2 separate regions of the Homo sapiens genome follow, and region 2 is linked to region 1. Evidence: promoter capture Hi-C in human tissues and cell types (Jung and others, 2019). All regions are on one chromosome and are shown on one strand. The core of a region is centred on a gene start or on the middle of the fragment in contact, and the rest is flanking DNA. Distances in the headings are between cores, read along the strand shown. Region 1 holds the start of UCN3 (urocortin 3). Region 2 has its middle 15 kb from the start of LINC02561.

Region 1 (3,230 bases), core at 492-2,991:
GGGGAGTACAGAGTCTTGAAGTCCTTCCCCACAACAGCTTTCCATTTGTTCCTCCAAATGCTCATGGGCTTTAAAGAGTTTTGGTAATTTCAGAAGACCTCTTACCTCTTCACCTGCAGGAATTCACGAGAGTGGAGCAGCCGTCTGGGAGGAGGGCTAGGGACAGCCAGCCGGTCTTGCAGGGCCCCTTGTCATCAGCTCAGCCCAGTGAAAGGAGCACTGAGCCCAGCGTCAGGCCTGGTTCTCACCTGACTCTGTCACCCTGGGCCTGTGGGGTCCCAGCAGGTCACTTTTTACAGCCTCAGCTTCCTCATCTGTGAATAAGGGGTCAACAGACCGTAGTCTCCCACATCTCCCCATTACATATGGAATAAACTCCCAACTCCGCAGGCCTTTGGAGCACCTTAGTGCAGAGCAGCCTCTGCACCCACCAACACCTCCCTCCCATCGTCCTCCTTCTCTCCCGTTCCTCTCAGCCCTGGCTCAGTCCATGCTGATCCATCCTTTCTGTCTGAAACCCCTCCTGCTCTCCTCTCCTGTCTTGAGTAGACAGGACTGCTCTCTTCTGTAGCATTTTTTACCTACCTTTCTTTCTTTCTTTCTTTTGAGATGGAGTCTCACTCTGTTGCCCAGGCTGGAGTGCAATGGCGCCATCTCAGCTCACTGCAACCCCCACCTCCCAGGTTCAAGTGATTCTCTTGCCTTGGCCTCCTGAGTAGTTGGAATTACAGGCACTCGCCACCATGCCCGGCTAATTTTTTTTGTATTCTTAGTAGAGCCGGGGTTTCACCATGTTGGCCAGGCTAGTCTTGAACTCCTGACCTCGTGATCTGCCCGCCTCGGCCTCCCACAGTGCTGGGATTACTGGCATAAGCCACCGCACCCAGCCTTCCCTACCTTTCTAAACCATGAGGCCCTGTATGGTTAGGGGCCACAACTTACTTATCTCTGAACTCGTGGGTGTCTTGGCAATACCTGGTACACAGTAAGTCCTCAATAAATATAGGATGCATAAACGAGTAAAATCCAAGCCATTTCCCACTAAAACCTCCAGACCTCTGGTGTATGATGACCTGCTGTCATAGCCCAAAGGAATGGTTGAGTTTCAGGTATCCAGAGAAAAATGCAGGTGTAGAGCTTTCCCCTCAAACGTATTAACAAATAGATGGTGCTCAGTCATTTTCGCGGCAGGCTGCAGAGAAATCTTAAACTTTCGTGTTGTTTCACTGAGGGTACGGCAGAAGAGCCCAAGGAATGTGAAAGGAGAAACTTGCATAATTAGACTTTATGTGGGGAGTAGGCACCGAGTGTGTGACAAGCACAAGGGGCTACGTGTGCGGCCAGATGACGCTGCACGGTCAGAACCCACAAAACAACACGGCAACAGGTGGATTTTAAACCCCTTCTCTGCTTTCAAAGCAGGTCCAGGCTCTACATTTACAGAAGGAGAGTTAGGGCAAGGGGAATGTGGGGGAAACTGAAATTAGTTAGAACTAAGATCAGCAATAAAATTCTTCAAAGACACTGCTTCTCACTTTACCAGGATTTTTGTTTTGTTTTGTTTTGAGTTTTTATTTCTTCTTTTTCTTTTTTGTTCTTTGCTTTTATCAATGAAGCAAGTTGCTAGGATGCAAAAGGAGTTGGGGGGTAGAAGGGCGGGGTGGGAAGCAGAGGTGGGAGGGGTCGAGGTTGGAGCACCTGTCGTCTGCATGACGTGGACGGCTGGTTCTGGTTGTATTTTAAATGAAATCTCATCCCAGCGTAGACACCACGTCTGGAATTACGATCCACCCTGTGATCTGTCACTTTTATATACACACAGGGGAGGGGACCGTTTCCATAGAGAGGGAATATCACAGCCCACTTAGGAACAATACCGGAGAAGCAGGAGCCGAGACCCCGGAGCAGCCACAAGTTCATGGGGACGTGCACGGGGCCGCCCTCCTGGCCCTGAAGCTGCGCCGGCCTCCCTGAGCGTTTCGCTGCGGAGGGAAGTCCACTCTCGGGTAAGCTTGTGGCTGGGACTGACTTATGAAGGGTAAATGTATCTGCCCTAATTTAAGCAGGAGGTGCCATGCACTAGACAGGTGTGAGAGATGAGAGCTGCTAGCGCCCCTGGGTGGAAGCCCAAGGGAGCGATGCTGAACGCCCCCCACCCAATCAGCAGAAATCAGCCCCAAAGGGACCAGGGGAAGTTTCTCAGGGAGGCACAATCACATTCCCACGTTGGTATAGAGAGACCCTCTTTCCAAAGGTGTTAGATCAGAGGCAGAAGGTGTTCACACAAATCTGTTTTCTCTGAACAGAGCACAGCTGTGCACAGGAAAGTCAGTCCTCGGAGACAGTTTACAAATGGGGATGGGGTAGGGATGCCGGGGCTAATGGGAGCCACAGGACATGACTCCACGCCGCCTGCAAAGCAGCGAGGACACCTGCACTTACTGTTTACCTGTGCCACAAACCTTCACCTGTGCCATCTCCCGTCACTCTCGGGCACACCTGTGAAGCAGGTAACGTCTCCTTCCTAGGACGCGGCAAGTGAAATGCAGGTTAAGGGATTCACCCAAGAAAAGTCAGAGGCAAGGGAGTTTCCCCAGCCAGGTCCTCTGCCACCAAAGCCCAGAGCCCTTTGCCACACTAGGAACATTGCGGGGGTGTGTGCAGATACCTACAATGGCTAACTCCTACCTGTGAAGGGGAGATGGATGTTTGATGTTTATGTTTTCTGAAAATTCCTGTTCGCAATTTCTTTCCCAAGCATAGCCACCTACCAAAAATAACAAATGTGAGATTTTTAAAACGTTTTAAGTGGTCTAGTTTCAGTTTAACTTCTTATCAGTGTTTGCAGACAAACGGAGCCCACAGGAATAGCTCTGCACTTGGCAGAGATGTGTGATCAGTACTGTTTGCCTCCTGCCTTTGCTGCTTCATGTCCTGTCCTCTCCCTGTGAGGTGCTGGGAATTGGAGGCTGACCCAGGTCCCTCACGTTTCAGTGCTTGGCTCTGCCACAGCTCCCAGAAGTAACTGTGTCTCTTTACAGCATCCTCGACAAGTGCTACTGTCACCATAGCCCAAAGGAATGGTTGAGTTTCAGGCACCCAGAGAAAAATACAGGTGTAGAGCTTTGCCCCTCAAATGTATTAATAACTAGATGGTGCCCAGTTATTTTCGTGGCAGACTGCAGAGAAATCTTAAACTTTTGTGCTGTTTCACCAAGAATATGGCAGAA
Region 2 (3,230 bases), core at 227-2,726, 79 kb before region 1:
GCCATCCCATGTACCTCTCTCTCCTGTGGGCTGAGGGTACATACGGGAGAGACCCTCACCATAAAGAGGTGGAGATTTCACGTTGTATCTCTGTAGTCTGTAGTAACCTAATAGCTCAGAACCTACACTCAGGAACACAAGCACTAAGAAATGCAGGGCAATGCCCTCATGTTTCTAGCATAGAGGAAGTGAGATCATCGAACCTGCATCTCGCTTAAGGCTGGGGGATGAGCACAGACAGAAAATTGCAATGTCATTCGGCTGTGAAGGAGACTCGTGAATGATTTAGCAATTCTATGCAATTCACTCAAACCTACCCCTCTCGGAAAGAACCCAGGAAATCAAGCTGGAATGAGACAATGGAGGTGCTAGTAACAGTGATGAAACTGTTTGGGGCATAAGAAGGAAAAAACAAAAGCTGACCTTCATAGCCAATGGATTGTGGATAATGAAGAGATCGACATAGTCCAGTTGAAGTTTCTTCAGTGACCCTTCCAGGGCTGGGCGAACTAATTCTGGTCTAAAGAAAGTTGTCCAAAGCTGCAGTGAACAAAAGAAATAAAAAGTAGCTTATGATTTCACACACTTGGGGACCAAAATTAAACATAACAGAAATTGACACATGAGTAACAAAACACTGTGGTCTCAAACTAGAAGAACTGGGGCTACATTTGTATTATTCAGGGTAAATTACATCCTTGATGAGATGCTGAGATTTACTTGAATGACTGCAATGTAAGAAAACTGTGAATAAAACTTAGATGGAGCAGGAAAATCAACTTTAATGCATCAAGGGTTAATGGCATCGTCCTCTGAGAGCAGTCGAGAAATGTCAGGACACGGGGAATGGAATCTACTGTCCTGTATAATGAATTCCTCAAAACAATTCTGCTGAGAGATGCATTCTAAAAACAAGTTGTCGTCAGTGTAAACAGGCATAGGCTGTATCGCCAGTAACCAAGGCTTTATTTACATTGGAAGAAAGGTTTTCCACCCTAGGAAAATGTTATAACATTCAGGAAACTCAATGCTGAGTTGAAAAATAAAAAAGTATTTCCCAGTCTGGCTCCCTTTTCTGAATAACATCCCAACCTCACTTGATACGTCCTGAGAACAATTACTGAACAATCAACGGAGTGGCCCCAGAATGCCTTGGGTAATCGTATAACAGTTACTTAAGTATTATCGATCTCATCTCATATATGAATAATACCTGCCGCTCAGAGACATTGAAGAACAGTGTCCCACCTTTCACACATCTCAGAGAAAAGCCTTTTCTATGTTTTCATAACGTGCCTTCACAATATTAGGTAAGAAATACATTGTTCCTATGTTTTGATAATGTGCCTTCACAATATTAGGTAAATACATTGTTCTGAGACCACATTGTTTTTCTAAATAATACATCTGAACTGACGGTGGCCTCTGGCCACTGCACACACAGAAATTTCACCTCAGTGGTGTAGAAAATGTCCTCTCTCTTCACAGGGCCATCAGCAATCTTCTCTCGAATGGCCTTTCCGACCTCCTCCTCGTTTTGGTAGAAGAACGCCGCATCAATGTGACGGAAGCCTGCATCAATAGCCACTTCGGTGGCTTCACCAGCCTTGCTCTTGGGGGTCTATAAAACAGGAGTAAGAGGAGTCAACGATCTGCCTGACTCAGAGAAAATCCATGTATTTCCACAATGGCATTTTCCTTTTTTTTTTTAATCTTTTACTTTGGGTTCAGGGACACATGTGCAGGTTTGTTATATGTGTAAACTGTGTCACAGGGGTTTGGTGTACAGATTGTCACCTGGGTAATAAGCATAGTACCCAATAAATATTTTTTCTGATCCCCTCCCTCCACCATCCTCCAACCTCAAAAGGTCCCGATGTCTGTCGTTCCCCTCCCAGTATCCCTGTGTGTTGTTCAGCTCCCACATGTAAGTGAGAACGTGCAGTATTTGGTTTTCTGTTTCTGTGTTAGTTTGATTAGGATAATGGCCTCAAATTTCATCCATGTTGCTGCAAAGGACGTGATCTAGTTCTTTTTTGTGGCTTCACAGTATTCCACGGTGTTTATGTACCACATTTTCTTTATCTGGTCTACCACGGACGGGCATTTAGGTTGAGCCCATGTCTCTGCTATCCAATAGCATCTTCATAGTCTGCTGGCCTCCTGCTCCCCTTTTGATCATTTGGGTTTCCATGATAGACTTGCACACTCCGAGGACAGCAACTAACCTCCTGTAAGCTTCTACTCCCAAATAAATTAGTGGAATTGGCTTCACCCTGGAGCATGGAAAAATCACATCTCATTCCATATGAATCAATTGTACAAGAATAACCAACGGGAAAACTTCTGATACTGGGAGAATTTTTCTAAGGCACTCAATAGGAAGGACAGGTCAATCGACACACACACACACACACACACACACACACTACATACATATTACAGCTGACCCTTGAATAACACAGGTTTAAACTGCACAGTCCCACTTATACATGAATTTTTTTCAATCAAAATTACAAAGTGTGCCTACTTCTCCTGCCTCCCTTCCCCCTCCTTCACCTCTTCTGCCTCTGCCACCCCAGAGACAGCAACCCCAACCCTTCATCTTCCTCCTTCTCCTCAGCCTACACAGTGTGAAGAAGACAAGGATGAAGACCTTTGTAATGATCTACTTCCACTTAATGAGTAGCAAATATATTGTCTCTTCCTTATGATTTTCTTGAGTTTCTTTTCTCTAGCTTACTTTTCTCTAGCTTGCTGTATTATAAGAATACAGTATACCATACATATAACATGCAAAATAGGTGTTAATCAACTGTTTATGTTATTAGTAAGGGTTGCAGTCAATAGTTGGCCTGGTTTTACCCAGGACACAGACGTCACCTCACCAAGCTGGCGTTGCAACGTTAGGATGATAATATGTACACGCTCTGCCTCAAATTTCAAACAGTGGATAGTCTAATGACTACATCTGAGATTCTGCCCTAGCAAGCTTCCTAGAACAGCAGGACAAAAGACAGCACAACACACACGCAGGAAAAAAGCTTCTCGTTCCTGCAGTGACTTAAGGTAAAAACACCAATTAGAGTATTAAGGAAGCTTCTTTTTCACTTAGTGCATTTGAAATGTCTGAATATTAAGCACGTGCACGTATTACAATTTATTATGGTAAATGAGGGGGTTATGGGGAATTTTGTTCTATTCTCTATGGCACTTTTTTCTGTCTTTTC

What was found. The method cuts DNA at HindIII sites, captures the fragments that hold promoters and counts their contacts. A contact is called where the count stands out against the background at its distance.
Region 2: a fragment that was not itself captured here is called in contact with the fragment with the promoter of UCN3 in region 1 in 2 of the 25 tissues and cell types used here (H1 embryonic stem cells and heart left ventricle).

The regions. Positions count from the first base shown.
Region 1 is chr10:5,363,225-5,366,454 of GRCh38, forward strand. UCN3 (urocortin 3) reads left to right here and starts at 1,742. Exons shown (of 2, transcript NM_053049.4): 1 at 1,742-2,006. The HindIII fragment of the contact is 10,177 bases long and covers 1-3,230 here.
Region 2 is chr10:5,284,392-5,287,621 of GRCh38, forward strand. It overlaps the pseudogene AKR1C7P. Among named protein-coding and RNA genes, the nearest start is that of LINC02561, 15 kb to the left of the region's middle. RefSeq lists an enhancer at 75-369. The HindIII fragment of the contact is 3,084 bases long and covers 1-3,018 here.